Regions from separate parts of the Homo sapiens genome. Here region 2 is linked to region 1. Evidence: promoter capture Hi-C in human tissues and cell types (Jung and others, 2019). All regions are on one chromosome and are shown on one strand. Each heading gives the region's core, a stretch centred on a gene start or on the middle of the fragment in contact. The rest is flanking DNA. Distances are from core to core; before and after follow the strand shown.

Region 1 (7,829 bases), core at 3,292-5,791:
GGTCAGCGCGTGCGGCCCGGAAGCCGGCTGCTAGGCGCCGGCTCACCGTTGCTGTAGAAGAGCTCACCGTTGCTGTAGAGGAGCTGTAACTTGTAGTGAGTGCCGTTGTTGGTCTTCTCGTTGCCTTGTTCCTGAAAAGACAGGCAGCGTTCGATTCCCTTGCCTTTCAGCCCCCCAAAATGAGGGAAAGAGGAGACAGTGAATCCCCACCTCACATCCCTTCTCCCCATCAAAAGGCAGCTTTGAGTAACCCCCTGTTCAGCCCTAGGTCAAAGGGCATGAGCATCTGCCTGTCCTTGGCCGCCCCCGGAAACTTGCCAAGACTCGTAGCCACTTGACCCTTTCCAGCCCTCTGTCTCCCTTAAAAATGTCCTCAGAAGTGTGACCCTTGAGCTTCCGACAACAGGACCACTTGCCAAAGCTGCCTTTAAACAGGCACCACCCAACCCATCGGGCTCTGTCTGTCCTTAGGAAGCCCCAAGGCTTCCCTTGGCAGAAAAGTGAAGGGACTTGTCATTTGGAAAGGCAGCATTCGGGCCTATCCCGCGAGGACTGCGCACGCAGGGCCACGAGCTCAGGGACTGAGTTCCAGGTTCAGGAGGGACTTTGGGAAGTGCCTACTCTAAAGCTCACATTGTACAGCTGGGGACACGGAGACCCGGAAAGGGCAAGGGATTTTCCTTTGGTCACACATAGGTTTCGGCGGACTGTCCTTCATTTGAGACCGAACCCAGCCCCCAATTCCAGGCTTGAGTTTGGAGGAGGCGCTGCCTTGGAGAACAGAACAGGAGAGAAGACACGGCCAGAAGGCAGGCCAAGGCTGGGCTGCCGGTTTCCACTTAGTGCCGCAACTCAGGCCACCTGGCTCTCGCAGGTGCAAAATAATTAAAATTAACCCAGAGAAGGGGAGCGGCGGCCTTGGGTGTACTTTTTAACTAGTCCAAGGGGCGTTTGCTCCGCCGTCAGTCCATAACCAGGCGCTACTAAGGCCTCCAGGCTCGGTGCGCAGAGCCGGGAGCGCTCCTCCAGCTCCAGGTTGGGGGAGTCGGGGTGGGAGGAGGTTCGGGAAATCGACTGATTTAGAGGCTGGGGGTGAGTAGCCTCGATTTATCATCCCTGATGGTGAGAGTGGAAAAGTGTCGCGAGAGTGACAGATGGAATCTTTAGTGCTTCGCAAGAGGGAGTTATTAGGCCGCGGGGTTTGGGGGGTACTTTCCGCTTACTTTGTCATTCTCCACAAAGTCCACGAAGGCCGTCCGCTCGATCTCCACCGGCTGGCCCTGCCTGTCATAGAGCGCCAGGACGAAGTGAAAGAAGTTGGATTTCCTCAAGTTGGAAGGAGGCTGTTTCTCAAAGTGGGCCCGGGACAGGGCGACCCCGCTGCACAGGGAGAAAAACGGGGGAACACAAGACACGGGGAAGCACAAAAAGGCGATGTTACTAACCGCCCACAACACTGCAGAGGGGTAAGGGGTCCACTTCCCAGGTCCAGAGTTCTGAACCCTTCGGGCCTTTTTTCCAATTCGGATAAGGAAGAGGAGACTCCTTAAAGGAGTCACCGTGGCCACGGGGGTTGGGTGGCAGGGTTGATACCTGGGGTCTCTGACACCACCAAGTGGTCCGGCATCCCACCGCTGGGCCACTCACCATCCCGTCTTTAGTCGAAACCGAAAGACCCCGGCTGCAGACAGAGGCCCAGAGTGGTCCCCTAAGGAGGTGGCCCGCGTCCTATACCGTGGGGCTGTCTCCATCCACTCCCTCAGGTGGTACTGCTGGGTGTATCAGGATGCAGAGCTGGGGCCCAGGGTTAGGGGAATAAGTGCCTCCTTTGCTTTGGAAGAAGCGACCCTTTTATTTAGTATTAATTCGAGTTATCAGTCCTGGACCCACTGCTCACAACGCCCAAATGCTGACTGGGAAAGGTAGTGGGTAAGAACCCCAAGGGGCAGGCGGGAGAGTAACACAGAGTCCAGGTCTGGGTCCTTGGGCTGCTTGCCTCGCTCTTCCGAAAAGTTGTGCCTGGGACAGAGACAGGGCGGAATCCTCGCGACCAGCCCCGGGGATCGCTGGCCACCACAAATGAGATGACCGACATAGGGGGCCCTCCCTCCCAGAGGTGCTAGGTGGGGAAAAGCCAAACTGTTAAAAGGCGAGAACCTCCTTTCCTGGGGCCAACGCGATCCCCACTCATGCTGCGTTTTCTGGCGGCGCCAGCCGAACCCAGTGACTGTGAAACCCAAGTTGGGGGACCCGGAAGGCGCCCTCGAGCGTGCTGAGTGTGTGCACACGCTTCCCAGCCAACCGGTCGCAGTCACAGCCCACCTGGCCATCAGATCCCATTTCACCGAAGACTTGGGGCTGAGGTGAACGCACAGATTGCGGGAGCTGCCCTGCGGCGCTGGGGTCTCCCAGGTTGAACCCCGGTGCGCAAGCACCTTCATTCACTCTTTTGAAAGGGGTAACATTTTGGCTAAGCTCTCCCCCACTAAGTCTGCTCCTTCCAGCTTCAACAAACTTTTTGATCCCGGGAAGGAAGGAAAGCGAGGGAGGCGTCTTTAAGGAGCCCAGCTAAGGAAATGCGCGGCACAGTTGGCTCTGCGGTGCTGCCTTATTTCCCTTAGCTCGCAGGCGGGCCAGTCCCGAAGCGCTGCGGAAAGCCGCGGCCGCCGCGCTGTGCGGTCTGCCGGAGGGAAATCCGCGCTCCCCGGGCCACAGGAGGGAGGGAACCGCCGCCGGCCCAAGTCCCGGAGCGATAAAACTTCTGCTTTCTCCGCTCCAAGGGTAGAGGCCGGTTCGCTCTACCCGGGACACCTGGCCAGTTTGGGAAAGGGATCATTTCTCCGTGTGATGTTGGCACTTAAATGTGGGTGGCCAGGAGGGCAGCAGGGGAAGCGAGGGTAGTGGAAGAAGTTCATCGGCTCTTTGGGGGTAGAAGGGCTGCCTCTCTCGCAGACAAGGACCTGGAGGCCACAAATCCCAACTCAGTAGTGGTGATGAGAGAGTGGGACCGTAATGTCTTCGTAGGGTGGCACCCCGGACATGGTATTTACTATCCCAGCACGCAGACGCCTAAACACAAAGTCAACTTCAGGGATCCGCAAAACCAGAGGCTGGCGATCCCTGAGCCAGTCTAGCTGCTGGTGGCCTTTTCTCGCCTCTTTCTTCTTCCGCAACTCTTTCTACTGTGACTCAGTATTTTCTCTTCTTTTAAATCTCTTCTTTTCTCCAGTTCCCTAGCTCCGTTCGTCTGGCTCACTGTTTTATCTTTGAGCCGGGACCCTCCAGCCTGTCCCCCCTCCCAGAGCTCCCGGCCGCCTCGTCTTCCCGGGCAGCCGCTCCGGCTTTTCCCGCTCCCCTCGCCGCCGCCACCCTCTGGCCGCCGGCCTCCCAGGCTCCAGGAATCGCCCAGCAAGATGCGGGAGGTAGGCGCTCGCAGGCGGCGTGGCGAAGCCAAGAGTGGCCAGGAAGCCGGCTTTCCTCCCGCGCCGCCACTGCCAGCGCCGGTGTTCACGCTCCGTTCGGGGCCAGGCCGGCTCGGCTTGCAGGACTAGGGGCTGAGCTGGGAGATGTTGGGGGCTACTTTATTTTTCCTTGCAAAGAGTGGACTGTGGTAAAGGAGAGGGAGAGAAACGCCTACGACCCAGGCAGTTCAGGAACTCGAGTGCCGGCTGCCGGGTGAGCGTTCGCCTGACTGCAGCGATCTGCTTGCCCGAGGGCGAGCCCCAGCGCGCAGGGCCTGGGCGACAGATGGGGGGACAGGGAGAGAGAAAGGCACGGGGTGCGCGGGGGGGGTGCACACGGAGAGACAGACCGTAAGAGCGAGAGACAGCATAATAATTGCGCGGCCGTGTCGTTACCTCTGCGCGGCGACATTAGCGTCCACCACTCCGACATTCCGGACCCAGGACCTGACCGAATCCATCTCCGCGCCCAGCGATTTCTCTTTCAGAGTTGGTCCTCTTCCTAAAGTATCTTGAATTCCAAACATTTAAAAAGTCTGATCCTCTACTGTCGCTTTAAAAGTAAGAGTTACAACACAGTCCTGACTGTTCCCAACGTTGCCAGCAAATCGTCTCCTCCAAAGCAATCCAAGAAAAGGGATCAAGTGCCCAAGTTTGAGTCTTAGAAAAAAAAAAAAGATAACCCGTCCTTTGCTTCACTGGCGAGGTGCGGACTGATGTAGTCAAAGTTTGGGTTCTTATCCTCCGCAAGTTCAGATCTGCCGCCTCAGCCACTCCACCCTAGGTCGCTCGCATCCTTCCAGCTGCAGTGCTGCCTCCTGAAAGTGATCACAATTTAGAAGCATCACCTGTTCTGGGAGAAACTGGAGGAAATTGATGGCTGCCTAATCTCTCCCCTTCCTCCAGGTCCCCCCTCCCTGCTCCTCCCCACCGTTCCAATTTAGAAAAAAAAAAAATCCCCAACAGGATCAGTTGTAAAAAGAAGGGGAAGACCTGGAGCCGAGAGGAGGCGGTGGCTGCGAGCGCCACGGAGCCCGGCTGCAGCCGCGCGCGGGCCCCATGAATGGGTTACTACGGCCCTGGCTGCGGGAGGCGGAGCTGCGGCCCGATAAGGAGCCTCATTTGCATGGACGCGCGGGATTGGCCGGCGCCTGGCAAGCCGGGCCGACGTCCTCCGGCGGCGCGCGCCACGCTCTGCGTTGCCGGGACTCCGGGAGGTGAAAGGGGACAGAAAGCTGCGGGCGTCGAGTCCTAGCACGAACCCCGTGTGCTTGCGCAGGATTGGGGGGCCCCCACACCCTGCACTGACTTAGGGTAGCAGGTCTCTGCGGGCTGGGGACGCAGGGGTTCGGCCTGGCTGCGGGAAGCCTCCCTGGATCCTGCCTCTAGATGTAGGCTTTTGTAGCCTGCCGGGAGGCACGTTCGTTCCCGGGGTTCGGATCTGTGTGCATGCTTGTGAGCGTGGCCACATGTGCTTATGTTTTGCGCAAACGTCCCCCAGAGCACCCAGCTCCCTGAATGGCTCCCCAGGTCTCCTGGAGTTCCATGGTGATATCAGATGTTGTGTGCGGCTTGCACGTTGCTGAGAGTGGAGAACATATGAAAGAAGGCGGGGGATGGGGTGGGGCGGACAAGCGAGGGGCAAGTGCTGCTCAAATACAGTGCTGGGGAAAACGGTCCAGGACCTAAGGAAAACACCCGCGGGCGGGCGGGCGCGAGCGGCAGTCGCACCCGTGTGGAGGAGAGGTTGCTGACAGATCGAGGCGGGCTGAGTGCGCGAGCGGCCGGGGAGTATTCCCGCGGGTCCTCCGGTTCCCTCCCCACCTCTCCGTTCCCGAAGCCCCCGGTAGTGGGCGGGGAGGGACGGGGGAGTCGTGGAAACTTCGCCCACCGCGCGCGGTCGCCGCGGTGCTGGCCGCGGGCTGGTGGCCGGCAGGCGGTGGCAGCAGCCTCACCGAACAGCTGAAACCCTAGACGGTTTTTTAACTGCGCGGGGCTGCTCGCGGTGCCTATTAAACATCCTCCTGGCTGGGTGTCATTTTCTTGCTTCTCCTTTTGTATTCTGATCTGCGCATAGATCTGCTGCTGCTGAAATCTAGAACACCAGCGCGAAAACAGATTTGAAGACAATGAATGCAAATCTGTGCTCAAAGACCATCTGCCGTGGAGGAGACAATCAGCTGTTCGTAGTTCGAGCGATTGCGCCCCAGTCTCCCGGTCTCATTACGGGGAGGGCATTTGCGAGCGCCTGGACTGCGTTCAGGGCACTTTCTCCCCTCTTGGGTCTCAGATTTGAGAGACCAGATCCCTTAGGTGTAGGTGAGCGCTCGCAAATGAACTGCTAGAGTTTGCCGCTAGAGGACACAGCGCCTTGCAACTGGTTTGCCTAGGCTGACAGGAAGCTTGCACTTCAAGAAAACTCGGCTCTCTCGAGAAAGGGACCGGTGCGCGCCTCCACCTCCCCAAGGGACAAACCGCGGCACCACGCTGCGTGCGCGGGATTGCGACTAGGAAGTGCTGGTCCGAACTGCGGAGATTCGCTTGAAAACGGATAGGGGGTTAGGGAGTTTGCGGGGCGGGTGCACGGACCGTCTCTGCACAGGCCCCGGGATCCAGGGACTGGGGTCATTGATTTGGGGGAAGGTAGAGAAGGTAAACCCCCCGCCTCTGGGTTGTGTTGACTGTGGTACCCCGACCCCAGAGCTCTGGCTTGGTCCTCCCTGTTGGACTGGAAGGGGCGGGAGAGCCATACAGGGCGATTGGGAAATGGATCGGGTGGCTAGTAAAAGCCAAGTAAGACAGGAGTGTCCAAAGGAAGAAGGGGGTAGGGAGGGAAATTTGTAGGGATGAGATTCACTGCCCTGTTTCAACTCGGCAATTCTCTGTTACATGCAGGTTTTACGGAGAATTTCGGTCCCAGCAAAAACTGATCACCTGGAGTCTTCTACGGTCTCTCTTTATAAATCTCTCCGAACCTCAAGCAACTCCCCCCCACCCCCTTCGTCTGGGGTCTGCGCCCAGCGGGGCCAAAGCCTTGAGTTCCTTGGCAGAGAGTGTGGAACAGCCGTGAGCCCTTCAAGACATGCCTATGAGCCCGGTGATTTTTTTTTCAAGGGGGCTTTGATCAGCTGTACCTCCACGTTGCCCCGGAAAGGTGCGCAGGGCACCCGGAGAGGCCTCTGGTCAGCAGTGGGCCTGGGCCAAGCCCCAACAGTTTACCCCTCAGGCTCAGGTTGGCTGGGGTTAAAGGGCAAAGTCAGGGTCGAGGGCACCAGCTTTTCTCGGCGGTAACAGCTGCCACCCAAATTATGCCCCCTCAGGAAGCGAATGAATTGTTCCTTTCTCCCAGCTCCCTGCTGCCCGCCCCAAAACAGACGGGGCCGCGCTCGGCGGGCGCCCCTCCTCCCAGCCAACCCCCCGAGACGCGCTCAGGGGCCTCGGTGCCCCGCTGGGAGGCAATTTGGGGGAGCCGTGGTCCCGAACTTTGACAGAGTGGGGCTTCCCCACTACTTGCCGGCTGCGCTAAGGGCGCCCCCCGCGGCAGTGCTGCTGGGAGCTCCAGGGATGGCTGTGTGGCTCGCTGCGGGCGTTGAAGTTCCCTGTTGGCCAGGCTGAAGTGCCTGCGCGAGCGTGAGGGGACAAGGACTGCCTTGGGCCCAGCGTGGCGGCGTTTCGGCCAACCCAGTTGGGGTTAATTGCGTCTGTATAGGTTTTGGGTAGGAATGCTCGCGGAGTCCGCCACCCGCGCGAAACATGCGTTGGTTGGGGGAATGAGCAGCGGCGGCTGCGCCTGGAGGGTTGCTCCCACCTCTGTCGCCTCCAGCTACCCCCAAACAAACCTCCTTTTCGATCTCGTGCAACACAAAACCTGCCCCGAGCTGTGCGGGGGCCTGGCAAGCGCAGCTGCGGCCCCGGGAAGCCCAATCCCGCGGGACTGCGGAGCCCACGCGCTCCTCAGGCTCCGGCCAACTAGCTCGGTTCTGCCTCTAGCCCGGGTCAAGAAAAATCCAAAATGAACACTATGATTAAAATTATTCACAATCTATTTATACAAAACTGGGGGTGTCTGTCTTTTACCCTGTCCCCTTCTTCATTTACCCTTCCCAAATGACCCTCACCCCCGTTTTTTTCATGTTTCTGTTTCACGTCTGCAACCCAGTGCGGTATGTTCGATTTCCTTTTAATTGGTTTTAAGCCCCTTTGCTCAATCTCGTCCGGTCCAGTCATCTGGGCGCCAAGTCTCTCCTCCCGATCAGAGGTTCGGAAATTTTACTTAGAAACTGCTCTCCTGGCTGTGTTCCTGTCCGGCAGGACACTGGGGTGAATTCAGAGATGTCAGAACACACCCCTAAATACGACCTTCACCCC
Region 2 (7,829 bases), core at 2,748-5,247, 550 kb before region 1:
AAGTTCAGCCTTGTAAAGAAAAGAAAATTAATAGGAGGAAGTCTCAAGAAACAAAGTGTACAAAGAGAGCACTTCCTAAGAAGAGTCAGGTAAGCATGTGTTTAAAGATATAATAAAGAGTAGAAGTGGTGTGTTTCCTTATTGTATAATTAGGAAAATATAGAAACACATTTTTTTCCAGTTGACTTTGGACCAAGATTATTAATGCAATCTTACCGTGGAGTAGAATGGGGTGGGGGGGTTATGTACTTAACTCTGAATTGCCTAAGGAACACTTTTGCGTCTTCTTCATCTTCTTGTGTTGCGTACTTCCTGCACAGTAAATTAATAGGCACTCAAACCTGAAATTCTCATTCTCATCTTTGAATCTACCCCAACATATTACCCTATTGGGAATCCTGATTTTTTTAGGCAGGGATGAGTGTGCCGCTTGCTACTTCTTAGATTCTCTTCTTCCAGTTGCTGAATCAAATTTTTCCCTAAATTTAAGGGAAAGTTTAGAAACTAGCTCTCAGTCTTTCTTAACACTTCTGGTCGTCTCAGATACCCTTACAGTCCATGTGGTTAGCCAATTTAACACCTTAACCCAGTTCCTTTTCCTTCTCCAGCTCAGTGATCTGGACTCCACACTCCAAAGCCACCTACTCACTCTTGCTGCCATTCTTACAACTTGTTACTGCCCGTGTAGCAGTGCTCATTCTCTGACCCCCAACTTCCTGTCCATCCAGCCTATTCACTCTCTTACTCTGCAGTTCCTTCTGTACTGCTAAGCTTTCAGATACACCTGAAGTTCATGTTTCCCTCTTCATCCTGAACTGAGTGAACTGTTTCCAACTCTTGTCAGGAATCTCAATTCCGGATCCTTTTCCTTCCACCTCATCCATCCAGCAAAATTTCCAGTCTGACTGAGTTATCCTCTCTTCCATCTGACATAGCCCCTAGAGACACTCACACAGGAGTTGGGGATAGTACTACTACACATTCACTGACATCTGGCCTTCTTCTTCACCACTTTGCCGCTTCACTTCATTTTTAATACTAAAGCCAGTGCATACTTTTCAGTTCTGTTCTTAATGGACATCTTAGCATTTGACATGATGGAACACTCCTGTACAGTCTCTAAGGTTTGTTTTCTGTCCCCCATTGTTAAATGTTTGTGTTTTCCAGAATTCTCTTCTTTGCCCTTGTAAATTGTTTATCTTCTGGGTAATTTCATACACAGCATGGTTAATGACCATATATGAAGACCAGAACTTCCTGATCTGTAAATCTGTGTTCAACTACGTACTAGACATCTGTCTTTAACCATGCTATGTCAAAATCAGCATTTCTAAAACTAAACTTATCAACCTATACACCCACCCAAAACATTCCGTAAACTTCCTTCCCCCTCTATGAAATAAAAATGACTGCTTTTCTTGGTTGAGTAGCACAGATATCCTTAAGTCATTAAATCCGGAAGGAACTAGGTGTTTTCCTGCTTTAGTTCCTTTTTAGGTCACACACTCTTGATAAAATGATGAAAGATTATCTTGCTGAAAAAATACCATTAATTCAAAAATATACATACAACTTATTACATTAGAAATTGATTTCCTTCGTGTGTGTGTGTATATATATTTTAAAGCACTCTTACAAAGAATATACACCTATTCATATAAAATTACGGCCAGAAAGTACAAAAAGGATTGAGCATTAAGTCACTGCAATCCCTCCCAGGACCTTGCTGAATTAATACCATTTAGGTACTAAAAGGAATACACTTAGAATAGCAATGAGAGGAGGAAAGGGATGAGGAGGGGTATTGAGAAGCCGACGACAGCCTTCAATGAATTTCTAGAAGACCAAGCAGATGGGAGCATGTTGACAGATAAAAAAAGGTGGAAAGATTTACAGTTCAGAATGTGCTAGGAGGGAGCTAGAGAGGAGCTGGGAGCCGGCCTGTTCATGGGAATCCCAGGAGACCCTGGCCCAGAATTGGCAGGTACGATGGATGGTGAGAGTGAGAGGTGGTACTGAAAAACAGAGAAATGAATTGAAGTCCTATACGTGGGACAGTTTGCACCAGTTGGCACACCAGCCTCCTCCCACCCTGATGCTCAGAACAGATGTTGTCATCTAGATTAAAGCCCTCATTCTGGCATTTGGAAAGTCCCACAGTCTTGACAGCCAGCTCTTGCCCTAATGCAAATCCTGACAGTTGACCCTCCAGTATTCTGCCCCACCCTAGGTAGGATTTCCACGCAGGAAAGAGACTGAGCTGGAAAGCAGAGGAAACCTATATACCAACTTACCCAATCTTAAATAAGAAACAAGGCAATTGAATAGAACAAATAGCATGAAAGTGAAAAGACCAATGTTAATAAGGTTAAAAACTGACTTCAGAGAAATAGGTTATTCAAGGAATAGAAGGAAATTTTACATACATAAATACTCCACTCCAATTTAAGAAAATATCATCTGCATAAAAGTAAGGAGATACTATGAAAAAGGAATTGCAAAAACATAAAATTTAGTAGTTGGACAAAAGAATTAAAGTTAAGGAAAGTCTCCCAGAAGATAGAGCAAAAGAAAGACTGGAAACGAGAATCTAGGAGACACCATAGGACTCTTAGGAAAAAGAAGGAGAAAATAGAATGGGAGAAGTCATCCAAATAAAAGAAGAGGATTTCCCAAAAATAGAATGGAAGAAATTATTCAAATAAGAGGATTTCCTAGAACTGAAGAAAGGAGTCTTCAAGTTAAAAGCGCCCACTGAATAACTGGTACAATGAAGAAGGGCCAGGGGGTAGGCCTGTAACTGTGAAACTGAACAATAAGGATAATGAGGAAAGTGGGCTTTTCCTACAGAGAAATAAGAACCAGAGTGGCATCAAGACTAGCAATAGCCGGAAAGCTACAAAATCATACAAGAGTTCATTTAAAGCTTAGAAGAAAATTTCAACCGAGTATTCTACACCCAGCCAGTCTCAATTAAGTGTGAAGGAAAAAATAAAAGACATTTGAGTGTTTCTTTTTTTCTTTTCTTTTTATTTTGAGAGAAGGTCTCACTCTCACCCAGGCTGGAGTGTAGTGCTGTGGTCACTGCTTACTGCATGCTTGACCTCCCTGGCTCAAGTGATCCTCCCACCTCAGCCTCTTGAGTAGCTGGGACTACAGGTGCACGCCACCACGCTTGGCTAGTGTTTTTTGTTTGTTTTTTGTTTTTCTTTTGAGATGAACTCTTGCTCTGTTGCCCAGGCTGGAGTGCAGTGATGCATGATCTTGGCTCACCACAACCTCCACCTCCTGGGTTCAAGCAATTCTCCTGCCTCAGCCTCCCAGTTAGCTGGGACTACAGGAACGCACCACCATGCTCGGCTAATTTTTGTATTTTTAGTAAAGACGGGGTTTCACTATGTTAGCCAGGCTGGTCTCAAACTCCTGACCTCATGATCTGCCTTCCTCGGCCTCCCAAAGTGCTGGGATTACAGGCGTGAGCCACCACGCCTGGCTGGCTAATTTTTTTTTACTTTCTTGAAGCAGCGGGGGGTTGGGGGGTCTCACCTTGTTGCCCAGGCTGGTCTCAGACTCTTCCTGGGCTCAATCACTTCTCTCACCCCAGCTTCCCAAAGTGCTGGGATTACAGGCTTGAGCCAACATGCCCAGCCAGAAAGTTATTTTTCTTTGGATGCTACTGGAGGAGGAACTCTAGCAAAATGAGGAACTAAGCTTAAGAATTCAGGACACAACGGATCTAACAATACAAGAGCGCAATCAAAGGGAAATCGCTGGTTGTAGCTGTTCAGCCAGCCTAGAAGAGCAACCAGTCCAAATTTGAGCAGGGAGAAGGAGCTGGAGCTAAAAAACGGAAAAGACCTGTGATTGAAAGAATGAATGGTATGAAAGGTATGTCACATAAGAAAAAAACGGTAATTATATACCATTTCAAATAAAAGTCTATATAAAAGTTTTAGAGTAAATATGAAGGAAACATTACTGTGATTTCAAGCAATAATGCAGTATAAGGAAAAGTAGATTTTATAGTGCTAGGAATCATCTCCCTCAAGGGGCCCGGAGGAGAAGAAAAGAGTATGAAAGCTGTACTTGGCAGAGCCGTGAAAAATGTTTGCAGTCATAATAATACAGATGCTATTTGTTTTCAACTAAGGACGAAGCTTTTAACAACTTGGTTGTTGTGCAGGACAATGTGAGTATTAACAATCTAATGATAGGAAAATGTAGTTAATAGCAGAAGGTGAAAAGTGAGTTAAGGTAGAAACAAGGGGGCTAATGGTGTGCTGGTAAGAGTGCAGACTCTGGACCAGACCCCTGGGTTTAAATCCTGGGTTCATTCCTGCCTCCAGTGCAATGCTGGGTAAAATTCTGGACTCTGTTTTGTTTGTGTGTTTGTTTGTTTGTAAAACAGTGGTGGAAATGGATGTTAGAAGCTTCTGAATCTTAATGAATTCATGCATGCTCAACTCTTAGAACAGTGCCTGGCCATAGTAAGCTTTGTGGTCATTATCATCATTATCATGAGACATTCAAGATATATATTTTAAAATTTAATGAAAAGAAATAGAAATATAAAAGTTCAATGTTTACCAACTGAAGAGCCACAATTAACATAGAAAAGAGGCAGGTTTGGTTTTAAATGAGCAGTTTTTTCATCTTTCATAGCAAGATGTTGACAGATAACTAAAATTAGATTAAATGCCACTTCTCAACCAGAAGTAGCATTAGAATCCTCAAGAGTAAATTCCTTTATAAACCAGAAATGGAGAAAGTTCCCAAAGTGTGACTCAAAAACCAGAAACAGTGAGGGCAAAGGATTGGTGAATTTGATATCTTTTGAACCATACAGCATGGAGCATGCGTAAGGAAAAAAATCCCCATAAGAAAATTTAAAAGACAAAGAACAAGCTTGGGAAAAGTATTTGCAACTCATATCAGACACCAAGGATTAATGTCACTAATATTTGAAGAGCTTCTAAATTACTTAGAAAGGAACAGTCTTCAAAAGATAACAAAACATTTACAAAACTGAAATGAAAATGACCTTCAGCACAGGAAGAAAATGTTCAGACTTCCTCATCATAAGAGAATTGCAGCTGTAACGTGCATTGAGATGCCGTTTCTCACCTTTTAGATTACCAAAAATCTGAAAGTTGACAGCATACTCACGTGGTAAGGCTATGGGGCAAACAGGCACACTCATACATTTTCTGCTAAAGCAGACCTCTGTGGAGGAGTATTTGGCAGTATCTGGCCAAATTAAATACTCATTTGTCCTTTGACCCAACAGGCCTATTTCTAGGAATCCATCTCAAAGATCCACTGATCAAAATACAAAAATATATGTTTATTTATTGCAGCATTCTTTGTAAAGCAAAAGACTAAAAGCAAACCATATGCTCATCAATATGAGACTTGTTGAAAAAACTATGGTGTTTCCACAAAGCGAGTATTAGGCAGCTGTAGAAAGTTGTGAAGAGAACTTCCATACACTTCTATACAGTGATGCCAAGGGGACACAGATGGCCCTCTATATACTGTTGTCCAGCATCTGTGGTTGGTTGAATCAAAAACACTCAGGGCTGGGTGAGGTGGCTCACACCTGTAATCTCAGCACTTTGGGAGGCTGATATTGGAGGATTGCTTGAGGCCAGTAGTGCGAGACCAGCCTGGTCAACATAGCACAACCCCATCTGTATTTTCTTAATATATTACTTAAAAAAAAAAATTCAGAAAAACCCAATAACAATACAACAATTAAAAAAATAAAAATTTTAAAATACAGCATATTAACTATGTAGCATTTATATTGTACTTGGTGTTAAGTCATCTAGAGATGCTTTAAAGCATAGTTATTATGCTGTATTTTTACAGTATAATGCTGTAAAAGGAAGTTTACATATGCTCTATGCAAATACTGTGCCATTTTATGTCGGGGACTTGAGTATCTGCAGATTTTTGGTATCCACAGGAGGTCCTGGAACCAATTTCCCTACAGATACTGAGGGATGACTGTGTTTACTGTTAAAATGAAAAAAGCATGTTATAAAACAATATATGTGGTCAACTACTGGTTATGGACTGAATTGTGTCCCTTCCCAAATTTATATATTGAAGTCCTAACTCCCAGGATCTCAGAATGTGACTGTATTTGGAGATTTGGTCTTTAAAATAGTTATTAATTTAAAATGAGATCCATAGGGTGGGTCCTAATCCACTCTGACTGGTGTTCTTATAAGAGGAGGAAATTCGGACCCACATAAGGACACCAGGGACGAGTGTGCATTGAGAAATAACCATGTGAGGACACAGCAAGAAGGTGGCCATCTGAAGGCCAAGGAGAGAGGCCCCAAGAGACACCAGCCCTGCCAACACCCTGATCTTGCACTGCTAGCCTCCAGAACTGGGAGAAAATTAGTTTCTGTTGTTTGAACTACCTAGTTTGTGACATTTTATTACAGTAGCCTTACAAACTAATACATTACCCTTTGTCTAAGAAAGTAGAGTACACATATAGTTTTGATTTTTCAGTTGAAGAATAAACCAAAGAGAAATAAAAAACTGGCTATAGGGAGAAGGGAGGAGACAGGAGAGAATGTGAATGCAAGCTAGACTTCGTTAAGTGTGTACTGTTTTTCAGTTTTGATTGTGGGACCATTTAAATGTTTTACCTGACTATGAAACAAAACTAAAACTAGTAGAAAGAGAACAATCTCTAATAAGCGAAAGCAAAATTTGACAAATTCTTACTATGTCAAGTTGGTGGCTTAACTTCATTAAGAATTTTTTCAAACCTAGAAATTTGAATATAAGTGGGATAAATCTTTTTTTTTTTGAGATGGAGTCTTGCTCTGTCACCCAGGCTAGAGTGCAGTGGCGTGAGCTCGGCTCACTGCAAGCTCCGCCTCCCGGGTTCATGCCATTCTCCTGCCTCGGCCTCCCGAGTAGCTAGGAATACAGGCACCTGCCACCACGCCCGGCTAATTTTTTATTTTTTATTTTTTAGTAGAGACTGGGTTTCACCATGTTAGCCAGGATGGTCTCGATCTGCTGACCTCGTGATCCGCCCACCTCGGCCTCCCAAAGTGCTGGGATTACAGGCGTGAGCCACTGCGCCTGGCCCTATAAGGGGGATAAATCTTAAGGACAAAAATAACTGCAAAGAAATTATAAACAGTATGAAACACTCAATAGAAGCACTGAATTTAGAATAAAGCAAATAAGCAATTTTTCCCATCATTAAGAATCAAGATGTGCACTCAGAGACAAAAGATATATTTTTAAATCCAACAAATTTAAAACTTTGGAAGACTAAATTTGAATTGGAAATAAGAGTAGAAACTCATTTTATTTTCCATTTAAAAGAATTGTCCAGCTCTATCCATTGATAAAGCTTAAAATTCATGAGCATCCCTGGTGCATAGATTATCATTAGACATACCAGTTAAAAGGGGTTAGGGTCCCTTGGTGAAATGGCTGCTTTCAGATTTACAACAACAAATTTAATAAGTGAGCCTGGTTGGGTCTGTACCAGAGTACAAGGAAGGATGCTAAAAAAAACTACTGGTGTCATGTTAACAGACACAAATCCATCTTCAAGGGACTTACACTGACCAGATATGATCATCAGCATTGCAAAGCATTGAAGTACAATCATGAAATAACACATAAGTTTATTACTTTTTTTTAATTAATGGACACTTTAGAAGCTTGCTAGGATACCCACTCATTTTTCTGATAACAGGAAAATAAAATTTGAGCTCTATTTCAGGTAAACAAATAGTTGATGAGGGAAAAGTTGTTTATAGAAGAATTTCAGGTAATAAAAGAAA

The links. Contacts are between HindIII fragments. The study calls those that stand out against the background at their distance.
Region 2: a contact is called between a fragment that was not itself captured here and the fragment with the promoter of EBF2 in region 1, in 1 of the 25 tissues and cell types used here (dorsolateral prefrontal cortex).

Annotation. Positions count from the first base shown.
Region 1 is chr8:26,040,872-26,048,700 of GRCh38, forward strand. EBF2 (EBF transcription factor 2) reads right to left here and starts at 4,542. Exons shown (of 16, transcript NM_022659.4): 1 at 3,858-4,542; 2 at 1,224-1,380; 3 at 68-131. The coding sequence starts at 3,988. RefSeq lists a silencer at 2,462-2,756 and an enhancer at 7,058-7,829. The HindIII fragment of the contact is 15,996 bases long and covers 1-7,829 here.
Region 2 is chr8:25,488,601-25,496,429 of GRCh38, forward strand. CDCA2 (cell division cycle associated 2) reads left to right here. Exons shown (of 15, transcript NM_152562.4): 13 at 1-89. Among named protein-coding and RNA genes, the nearest start is that of CDCA2, 33 kb to the left of the region's middle. RefSeq lists an enhancer at 2,816-3,316. The HindIII fragment of the contact is 4,299 bases long and covers 1,849-6,147 here.